Linked DNA regions of Homo sapiens: region 2 is linked to region 1. The links are contacts of gene promoters, found by promoter capture Hi-C in blood cells and fetal thymus (Javierre and others, 2016). All regions are on one chromosome and are shown on one strand. Each heading gives the region's core, a stretch centred on a gene start or on the middle of the fragment in contact. The rest is flanking DNA. Distances are from core to core; before and after follow the strand shown.

What was found. The method cuts DNA at HindIII sites, captures the fragments that hold promoters and counts their contacts. A CHiCAGO score of 5 or more calls a contact.
Region 2: a fragment that was not itself captured here is called in contact with the fragment with the promoter of NUCB1-AS1 in region 1 in 4 of 17 cell types (erythroblasts, megakaryocytes, M1 macrophages and 1 more); the score reaches 5.7 in erythroblasts.

Annotation. Positions count from the first base shown.
Region 1 is chr19:48,916,547-48,922,108 of GRCh38, reverse strand. It overlaps NUCB1-AS1 (NUCB1 antisense RNA 1), which reads left to right and starts at 3,218. Exons shown (of 2, transcript NR_046633.1): 1 at 3,218-3,405. It overlaps NUCB1 (nucleobindin 1), which reads right to left. Exons shown (of 13, transcript NM_006184.6): 8 at 3,325-3,383; 9 at 2,987-3,079; 10 at 2,823-2,915; 11 at 785-955; 12 at 177-282. RefSeq lists an enhancer at 2,520-3,019. The HindIII fragment of the contact is 8,372 bases long and covers 1-5,562 here.
Region 2 is chr19:48,971,392-48,976,953 of GRCh38, reverse strand. It overlaps GYS1 (glycogen synthase 1), which reads left to right. Exons shown (of 16, transcript NM_002103.5): 11 at 2,221-2,334; 12 at 2,615-2,741. Among named protein-coding and RNA genes, the nearest start is that of FTL, 8.9 kb to the right of the region's middle. RefSeq lists an enhancer at 388-682. The HindIII fragment of the contact is 1,204 bases long and covers 2,532-3,735 here.

The sequences.
Region 1 (5,562 bases), core at 1,969-4,468:
AGCCCCTCCTCCCTCAGACCCAGGAGTCCGGACCCCCAGTCCCTCTTCCCTCAGATCTGGGAGTCTGGGCCCCCAGTCCCTCTTCCCTCAGATCTGGGAGTCCAGGCCCAGCCCCTCCAACCTCAGACCCAGGGGTCCAGCCCTGCAGCCCCTCCTCCCTGGACTAGGGCCAGCACCTGTGTCTGGGTGGAACTTGAGCTGCCCCTCAGGGTGGGCAGCCGGGGCCTTGTGGCCTTGCTGCTGCTGCTGCTGCTGCTTCCGCTGCTCCATGTGCAGCACAGCCTGTGGGAGGTGGGGGGTCACACAGACAAGAGGGTGTGATGCTGGCATTGCAAGTGCTCAGGCCTCAGTCCCCAAACGGAGACTTCACAGCAGCCTGCTAAGTGGTCACGGCCAACCCCTTCTCCGTGGGCCTCAGTTTCTCTCTTTCATTGACAGTCGGGCTTAATAATAGTCAAGGATCCAGTTCTCCCTCCAGTCACAGCTTGGGTCTTGCTTTGGGACAGGGAAACCCTCACCCATCCCTGGCTGAGTCTGCCTTTCTCCCCCTCCTGGGCCTTTCCCTCCTCACTTACAGCCTTAATGCCCTTATCTCACATGGCAGCCACAGAGCCGTCAGAGACGGGAAAACGTCTGCCCTTACTCAAGATGGCGGTGAATACTTGAGGCTCCCCCAGTGATTAACATGGTGGCCACAGGCCTTCCCAGCTTCTGGACACCCATGGGGACACGGACACGGGCAGCCAGAGATTCAGTGGATGGAAGCAGCTTCCCCCGCTGTCACCTGCTGCAGCTCTCTCTTCTGGGCCTCCAGGCGGCCCTGGGACCGCCCTAGAGCCTCTGTCTCCTGGCTGAGGCGCTGGGCCTTGGCATTCAGCTCTGCCTCCCGGGCAGCCAGCTCCTCTTCAAAGCGCCTCAGCTCTTCCTCGGTGTAGGCAGGGTGCATCTCCACTGTCTGCAGGGCAGGCACAGGGGCCATCAGGGGCACAGGTCCAACCTCGGCCCACCCATGTTGGAGAGGGTTGTGCCAATGGGGGAGGTGTAGAGGAGGCTGGGAGGCCAGGGCCATGTGGGTGGGCAAAGAAGCCCAAGTGGGAGGTGGGAGTGGGATAAAGACCGAGAGACAAGGCCGGGCACCATGGCTCCCACCTGTAATCCCAGGACTTTGGGAGGCGAAAGTGGGAAGGATCACTTGACGCCAGGAGTTCAAGGTCAGCCTGGGCAACGGAGCGAGACCCTGTCTCTACAGAAAATTGGCTGGGCATCTTGAAAAATATATAGAAATAGGCCAGGCACCATGGCTCACACCTGTAATCCCAGCACTTTCGGAGGCCGAGGTGGGTGGCTCACCTGAGGTCAGTAGTTTGAGATGAGCCTGACCAACATGGAGAAACCCCGTCTCTACTAAAAATACAAAATGAGCAGGGCATGGTGGTACATGCATATAATCCCAGCTACTCAGGAGGCTGAGGCAGGAGAATTGCTTGAACCTGGGAGGTGGAGGTTGCAATGAGCTGAGAATGCACCATTGCACTACAGCCTGGGCAACAAGAGCAAAACTCTGTATTGAAAAATAAACAAACAAATAAATAAATAAATAAAACAGAGACCTAGATTAGCTGGGCATGGTGGTATGTGCCTGTAGTCCCAGTTACTCAGGAGGCTAAGGAAGGAGGATCACCTGAGCCCAGGAATTCAAGGCTGCAGTGAACTATGATTACACCACTGCACTCCAGCCTGGGTGACAGGAGACCCTGTCTCAAAAAATATTAATAAATAAATAAAAGAATGAGCTAGATTAGCTAGGCATGCTGGCATGTGCCTGTAGTCCCAGCTAATAGGGAGGCTCAGGCAGGAGGATCACTTGAGGACAGGAGTTTGAGGCTGCAGTGGGCCATGATAACACCCCTGCACTCCAGCCTGGGTAATCCCAGCACTTTGGGAGGCTGAGAAGGGTGGATAGCTTGAGTCCAGGAGTTTCAGAGCAGCCTGGCCAACATGCAAAACCCTGTCTCTACCAAAAAATACAAAAATTAGCTAGGTGTGGTGCGGTGGTGCATGCCTGTAATCCCACCACTTAGGGAGGCCAGGTCAGGTGGATCGCTTGAGTCCAGCAGTTCTAGAGCAGCCTGGCCGATATGGCAAAACCCCATCTCTACAAAAAATACAAAAATTAGCCAGGCATGGTGGCTCACGCCTGTAATCCCAGCTACTCATGAGGCTGAGATGGGAGGATCGCTTGAATCCAAGAGGCGGAGGTTGCAGTGAGCCGAGATCCCACCACTGGGCTCCAGCCTACGCGACAGAGCAAGACCCTGTTTCAGAAAAAAAAAAAAAAAAAAAAAAATCACACCTCTAATCCCAGCACTTTGGGAGGCCAAGGTGGGTGGATAACCTGAGGTCAGGAGTTTGAGACCAGCCTGGCCAACATGGTGAAATCCTGCCTCTACTAAAAATACAAAAATCAGCTGGGTGTGGTGGCACGCACCTATAATCCCAGCTACTCAAGAGGATGAGCCAGGAGAATTGCTTGAACCTGGGAGGTGGAGGCTGCAGTGAGCCGAGATCGTGCCACTGCACTGCAGCCTGGGCGATGGAGTGAGACTCCGTCTCAGAATAAATAAATAAATAAATAAATAAATAAATAAATAAATAAGAGTCCTAGAGACAGGGGAAAACAGAGACCCAGAGATAGAGATGCAGTGACCCAGGAGAATGGACGGGGACCCAGAGAGAAAGAGAAGGGGCCTAAGATTCTGAAAGAAAGGTCATGGCTAGAAGAGAGAGAGGTTCAGGACCCCGAGTATCCCCCATGTTCTCACCTCCCAGCCCTCCCCGGTGTCCCCAAACTCCTTCCTCTGAGTGGATGCGAGGAACTCCTCCAGGGTCACGAGGCGGTCCTGGTTGGTGTCCACCTGGGGAGCCAGATAAGGGTGAGTGACAGAGCTGGGGGCCCGTCCTCTCCCCCGCCTGGCCCCCACCTCACATTCTTCATCACATGCTCCCGCATGCGCAGTCGCTCCTCCTCCATCTCCCGCATGTCGTCCTCCTCATTCTTTGGGTCGTACACTTTCTCCAGCTGCAGGAGCAAGCGAGAGGCAGACAGCATTGAGAGGTCCCCAGCGAGCTCATTCCCGACAACTTCAACTCCCAGCAGTCCTTTGGGCACGCTACCACTCCTGGGAGCCGTTTTTGCCCCAGGGGCTGATGGGAGTTGTAGTTTTCACTGAGCTCCCATCCAGGGGGATTTAAGGGGACTGCAGGAGGAAACAAGTGGCTGATTTGGGCGTCCCTCCAGGTGCCCGAGGCTTCCAAGATGCTCACCTCCTTGGTGAAGAGTGCCTCCAGCTCCTGCTCATCCAGGACACCATCACTGTTGATATCTGAAGGGAAGAGGATAGCAAGGTATCTCAGGGGACCGAGGACGGGATGTGTAAGGTCCCTGGTGAAGAAATTTTGGGCTGATGTGGGGTCTGTTATCAGAGGACAGGTAACTACGGGTCTCCCGCGGTGGAACGGTGGCCCCCAGGCTTTAGTACCCCACTAGACCCGTTGCTAGGGCCACTGCCTAGCGACCAGGGGGTTGAGAATGGAATAGATCAAAGGGAGGGTTCGAGGAAACATGCTTGGGTCACTGTCATGCAGGATTCTCTGGCCCTGGCATTCAGTGCTCTGGACACAGAGTCAGCTCCAGGGTTATCAGGGACCTCTGCCTCCCAGACAACCAGGCCAGTGCCGACTCCAGTTGTGAGGGGAGCCTCTCCTACCAACGTAGACCCCACAGCTGCAGGGCTTCAGGCTCGGTCAGCCACACTTCCTGTCCTCACCACCGGCCCTCCTTCCTCGGCTCCCTCAGACAAGCACAACCTTCCTCCTGAGGAGGAGGCCAGGAACCCTCATCTTGCAAATCCAGTGGTTAATTTCCACCTGCATCTGACTTGACTTTCTGCCCTTGGCTTCCAGAACATGATTCTGTCCTCTCTGGCTGCCCCTCCACCTCCTTTGACGGCTCCATCCTCTTCCTGACCTCCACATGCTAGTGTGGCCCAGGGCTCAGGCCTGGGGGTCTCTTCTCTGCCTAAACTCTGGATCTGCGCTGTCCAGTACAGTAGCCGCTAGCCACATGGGCTGTTTAAATGTAAATTGATTAAGATTAAAGAAAATGTAGGGGCCAAATTTAGGGGCTCATGCCTGTAATCCCAGTACTTTGGAAGGCTAAGGCAAGATCATTTGAGCACATTAAGTTCGAGACCAGCTTAGAAAAGATGGCTAGACCCCGTCTCTACAAAAAAAAAAAAAAAAGTAAAAAATTGGGCCGGGTGCGGTGGCTCACGCCTGTAATCCCAGCACTTTGGGAGGCCGAGGCAGGAGGATCACCTGAAGTCAGGAGTTCAAGACCAGCCTGGCCAGCATAGTAAAACCCCGTCTCTACAAAAATACAAAAATTAGCCAGGCATAATGCCAAGTGCCTGTAACCCCAGCTACTCAGGAGGCTGAGGCAGGAGAATAGCTTGAACCTGGGAGGCGGGGGTTGCAGTGTGCCAAGATCATGCCATTGCACTCCAGCCTGGGCAACAGAGCAAGACTCTGCCTCAAAAAGAAAAAAAAAATTTAAAAATTGGCTGGGCATGGTGGTGTGCACCTATGATCCCAGCTACTCTAAGGGTTGAGGTGGAAGAATCACTTGAGCCCAGGAGGTCTGGGTTGCAGTGAGCCATGATCACGCCACTGCACTCCAGCCTGGGTGACAAAGGGAAGCCCCATCTCTAAAAATAAAAAAAATGAAAAATAAAAAAAGGTATAGGGAGTTGCTCTGAACCTATTCTGGTCTGTAGGGACTGCCTGATTAAAAAGATTAAATAAGGTTTTTATTTTTTTATTTTTTAGAGACAGGGTCTCACTCTGTCACCCAGGCTGGAGTGCAATGGTGTGATCGTAGCTCACTGAAGCCTTGAACTCCTCGGCTCAAGTGATCCTCCCACCTCAGCCTCCCAAGTAGCTGGGACTACAGATGCACGCCACCACACCCAGCTAATTTTTGTATTTGTTTTCATAGAGATGGGGTTTTGCCATGTTGCCCAGGCTGGTCTTGAACTCCTGGTCTCAAGGGATCCAGCCGCCTTGGCTTCGCAAAGTGCTGGGATTATAGGGGTAAGCCACTGCGCCGGGCCTATTTATTTGTTTATTTATTTTTGAGACAGAGTCTCGCTCTGTTGCCAGGCTGGAGTGCAGTGGCATGATCTCAGCTCACTGCAACCTCCACCTCCAGGGTTTAAGTGATTCTCCTGCCTCAGCCTCCTGAGTAGCTGGGACTGCAGGTGCGTGCCACCATGCCCAGATAATTTTTGTATTTTTAGTAGAGACGGGGTTTCACTATGTTGGCCAGGATGGTCTCGATCTCTTGAGCTCCTGATCTGCCTGCCTTGGCCTCCGAAAGTGCTGGGACTACAGGCGTGAGCCACTGAGCCCAGCCTATTTTCTATTTTTTAGAGACAGGGTTTCACTCTGTTGCCCAGGCTGGAGGGCACTGGTATGATCATAGCTCACTGCAGCCTTGAATTC
Region 2 (5,562 bases), core at 1,884-4,383, 55 kb before region 1:
AGCTGGGCATAGTGGCATACACCTGTTATCCCAGCTACCTGGGAGGCTGAGGCCAGAGGATGCCTTGAGCTCAGGAGGTCAAGGCTGCAGTGAGCTATGATTATGCCGCTGCAGTGAGCTATGATTATGCCACTGCACTCCAGACTGGGCAACAGAGCGAGGCGGACACATACACACACACACGAAAGAAGGAAAAGAAAGAAAAGAAAAGGTCAAGACAGCCATAAAAGAATTACAACTCTCAGCTCTCCTTGGGCCTTGCTGCACACGGCTCCACCTCTACCCCTAAAACTGCTGGGAGTGGTAGTTTTATCGGGCCACTTTAGGGACGCAGTCAGGAGGTGAGCAAAAGCACCCAGCATTCTCCAGAAAACATTGCAAACTCTCAGCAGCTGCGGTTTCTTATTTCCAGAGGCTGTGTGTTGGTCCCCAGACACCCCTGGGAATTGTAGCTGCTTTAGATCCCTAACTTCAGAGAGAATTGGCATTTATAAAATGAGAACTTACCGTCATTCTATTGAGTCTAGGGGCCCAAAAAACTACAACTCCCAGCAGCCCCTGCTGGCTTTCTGGGGCATTGACGCTTCCCTTGTCCAGAGGCTTCTGGGAGTTAGAGTTCTTTCATTCTCTGGGGTCCAGGGACTTCAGTACTTGTGGTCTACATTGGGGAGCCATTTCCTGGGGAATGGAAACCCAGACAGCTAAGTTGTAGAAACAAAACGTGAACTGCTTTTGGCTAACCTATAATTTCCAATAGTCCCTAAAGCAGCCCACCTCATTATGAATGTTTCTGCCATCGGGATGCTGGGAGTTGTAGTTTCTCGGGCCCCTAGACTCAGTAGAGTGGTGGTAAGTAAAATCTTTAATGAGCTATGATGGAACAGTTGCTAAGAACTATACACCCCAGCAGTCCTCAGGACTTCCTATCACACTAGCTCTGTCTTGCTCCAGAGACTCTTGGAAATTGTGGTTTCTTTGGGCCTTTGTTAGGGTTGGAGGTGAATTTTCTTTTTTCTTCTTTTTTTTTTTTTTTTTTTTTTTTGAGACGGAGTCTCGCTCTGTCGCCCAGGCTGGAGTGCAGTGGCGCGATCTTGGCTCACTTCAACCTCCGCCTCCCGGATTCATGCCGTTCTCCTGCCCCAGCCTCCTGAGGCACCCACCACCACGCCTGGCTAATTTTTTGTATTTTTAGTAGAGACGGGGTTTCACCGTGTTAGCCAGGATGGTCTCGATCTCCTGACCTCGTCATCCTCCTGCCTCGGCCTCCCAGAGTGCTGGGATTACAGGCGTGAGCCACCACGCCTGGTGGTTGGAAGTGAATTTTCATAAGGAAACTACAACTCCCAGCAGTCTCCAAAGCTTGCTGCCATATTGGCACAGTCTCCACCCCCATTGACTGGGGATAGTTATATTTCCTTTGGGTTTCTTTAATAATAGAGCCCAGAGTACAGAACAAGGTAGCTGCAACTCCTCATAGTCCTTGGAGGTAAGGGAGTTGCTAACACGGCTTTGCCTCAAAGACAGCTGGGAATTCTAGTTCTTTGAAGCTCATGGTGGTTAAGGGAAGGAAAACATTTCCAGGCCAGGTGTGGTGGCTCATGTCTGTAATCCCAGCACTTCGGGAGGCCAAAACGGATGCATCGCTTGAGCCCATGAGTTCGAGACCAACTTGGCCAACATAGTGAAACCCCATCTCTATTAAAAAAAAAAAAAAAAAAAATTAGGCTGAGCGCAATGGCTCACGCCTGTAATCCCAGCACTTTGGGAGGCCAAGGCAGGTGGATCACGAGGTCAGGAGATCTAGACCATCCTGATTTAACACAGTGAAACCTCGTCTCTACTAAAAATACAAAAAATTAACCGGGCGTGGTGGTAGGCGCCTGTAGTTCCAGCTACTCGGGAGGCTGAGGCAGGAGAATGGCATGATCCTGGGAGGTGGAGCTTGCAGTGAGCCGAGATTGTGCCACTGCATTCCAGCCTGGGCGACAGAGCGAGACTCCGCCTCAAAAATAAATAATAATAATTTAAAAGAAAAGAAAGAAAACCTTTACAGGTTGTACTAGTGGGAATCCACAACTCCTGGTGATCACTTGGGTTTGTTGCCCCACGTCCGGTGCATTTGTGGTCTCCTTGGCTCCCCCAGGGTCCGCATGGCTCATGAGGAAGTAGGGAGTTCTCTGTCCCTTCCATGACCCCTTACCCTTCTTGTGGCTCCTGCAGCGGCAGTCTTTCCCCCCTGTGTGCACCCACAATATGCTGGATGACTCCTCAGACCCCATCCTGACCACCATCCGCCGAATCGGCCTCTTCAATAGCAGTGCCGACAGGGTGAAGGTGAGGGCATTTGGTCAGGGCTGGGTTGGGCACGGCAGAGGGAAGGGGTTGGGTCCTGGGCCTCACACACTCCATTCCCCTATAAGTTTTATCAAAGGTATTGCTGTGGTTAGAAAGAACCCTGGCTTCTGAGGCAGGCAGACCTGGGTTTGAACATTGGTCCTGCCAAACACATGCTGTGTGATGCTAGACAAGCTTTTTACCCTCTCTGGGCCACCTTGGGATCTCAGGGCTTAGCTAAATAAGGCACTTGGGCTGAGTCCTTCTTTTTCACTACCAGGTGATTTTCCACCCGGAGTTCCTCTCCTCCACAAGCCCCCTGCTCCCTGTGGACTATGAGGAGTTTGTCCGTGGCTGTCACCTTGGAGTCTTCCCCTCCTACTATGAGCCTTGGGGCTACACACCGGGTGAGTGTAGTGGGCAGGGGACAGCGTGGTCATGGCATCCTAGTCAGAGCTAGCATGTCTTGGGGCGAGGCACTGGCCTTCTCTGAGCCTGTTGCCTTCTTTGCAAAACAGGAACAATGGTAATCACCTGTTCTGCTACAGCGCGTGCTTTTGTGATACAATAGCTCATGTATTGAGAAACTAGAAGACTGGGTTTTGAGGACTAGTGAACTGGATGTCACAGTTCACACTGCTTTCTCCCAGAAAGCAGTGGCCCCCCAAATAGTGGCAATGAAATGCACAATTCACAAATACAGCCGAGTGTGGCCAAGTCTCCTCGTAAGACGTTCCCAGTGCCCATCAACTCCACCTTCCTCTTGTTGGTTCACATTAGCCAGTGTTTTTAAAGCTAAATAAGGCTGGGCGTGGTGGCTCATGCCTGTAATCCCAGCACTTGGGGAGGCCAAGATGGGCAGATCATGAGGTCAGGAGTTTGAGACCAGCCTGGCCAATATAGTGAAACCCTGTCTCTACTAAAAATACAAAAATTAGCCAGGTGTGGTGGTACGCACCTGTAGTCTCAGCTACTTGGGAGGCTGAGGCAGAGAATTGCTTGAACTTGGGAGGCGGAGGTTGCAGTGAGCTGAGATCATGCCACTGCACTCCGGCAGTGCTGTGCTCTGGGTGACAGAGCGAGACTCCGTCTCAAAAAAAAAAAAAAAAAAAAATTAAAGCTAAATTAGTGCCATTTCCTAATTTATTAGTAATTTAACAAGTCCTGCAAACTGTGCTTGCATGATAATTAGGAGTCGCGGTCAGCCCCAATTCCCTTTTTCCATAGGCCTTGTTTTATAGATAGATTGATAGATAGTACTAGTCTGTTTTCACACCGCTATAAAAAAAAAATCCAAGACTGGGTAATTTATAACGGAAAGAGGTGTAATTGACTCACCGTTCCACATGTCTGGAGAGGCCTCAGAAAACTCAGTCATGGCAGAAGGGGAAGAAAGAAGCTTCTTCTCATGGCGGCAGGAGGGAGAAGTATGTGAGGGTGCAGGAAAAACGAACATTTATAAAACCATGAGATCTCGTGAGAATTCACTCACTATCATGAGAACAGCGGCGGGGGAACCACCCCCGTAATCCAATCATTTCCCTCCCTCGACACGTGGGGACTACATTTTGAGATGAAATTTGGGGGGGAACACAGAGTCAAACTATATCATAAATATATATTTAATACATTTTACTATTTGTTTCTTTTTTGAGATGGGGTTATTACTCTGTTGCCAAGGCTCACCTGGAACTCCTAGGTTCAGGTGCTTCTGCCTCAGCCTCTTGAGTATCTGTCATTATAGGTGCATCCCACCATGCCTGACAGATGTATTATATTTAGTGCCTATTTTTGCAGTTTACAGATGTTTTTAGGAAAACTTACATAAGAATTATAGATCAGGCCAGGCATGGTGGCTCACGCCTATAATCCCCACACTTTGGGAGGCCGAGGTGGGAGGATCACTTGAGGACATGAGTTTGAGACCAGCCTGGCCAACATGGTGAAACCCTATCTCTACTACAAATACAAAAATTAGCTGGGGGTGGTGGCAGGCACCTGTAATCCCAGCCCTTCGGGAAGTTGAGGTGGGAGAATCGTTTGAACCCCAGAGGCAGAGATTGCAGTGAGCTGAGATCGCGCCACTGCACTCCAGCCTGGGCGACAGAGTCAGACCCTGTCTAAAATAATAATAATAATAATTATAGGTCAGGGGCAGTGGCTCACACCTATAATCCTAGCATCTTGGAAGGCTGAGGTGGGAGGATAGCTTGAGCTCAGGAGTTCAAGACCAGCCTGGACAACATGGTGAGACCCTGTCTCTATAAAAGATTTTTTTTTTTTTTTGAGACAGAGTCTTGCTCTATTGCCAGGCTGGAGTGCAGTGGCACAGTCTTGGCTCACTGCAACCGCCTCCCGGGTTCAAGTGATTCTCCTGCCTCAGCCTCCAGAGTAGCTGGGACTATAGGCGCCTGCCACCACACCCAGCTAATTTTTGTATTTTTATTAGACACAGGGTTTCACCATGTTGGCCAGGATGGTTTTTTTTTTTTTCTCTTCTTGACCTCGTGATCCACCCGCCTTGGCCTCCCAAAGTGCTGGGATTACAGACATGAGCCACCGTGCCCGGCCTTTTTTTTTTTTATTTTTAATTAGCCATGCGTAGTGTTGTGTGCTCGTAGTCCCAGCCTCTTGGGTGGCTGAGGTGGGAGGATTGCTTGAGCCTAGGAGGTCAAGGCTGCAGTGAGCTATGATCAAGCCACTGTCCTCCAGGTTGGGTGATAAAGTGAGACCTTGTCTCGAGAAAAAAAAAAAAAAAGCATTGGGCCAGGCGCAGTGGCTCACACCTATAATTTGACCACTTTGGGAAGCCAAGACGGATGGATCACCTGAGGTCAGGAGTTCAAGACCTGCCTGGCCAACATGGTGAAACCCTGTCTATACTAAAAAATACAATAATTAACTGGGCATGGTGGTGTGTGCCTGTAGTCCCAGCTACTCGGGTGGCTAAGGCACGAAAATCGCTTGAACCCGGGAGGTGAAGGTTGCAGTGAGCCGAGATTGTGCCACTGCACTACAGCTTGGGTGACAGAGTGAGACCCTGTCTCGAAAGAAAAAAAAAAAAGCATAAAAATCCATCAAAAAATTATAATACATTCCTTGAACTATTTCTCAAGGTTGTTAAAGGTATTAAACAAGACGTACTAGATGCTCTGTACACAGGGATACTAATAATGAGAGACCTTATCTTACCCCCCATCAAAATAGACTAAGTCCGTACAAGATACT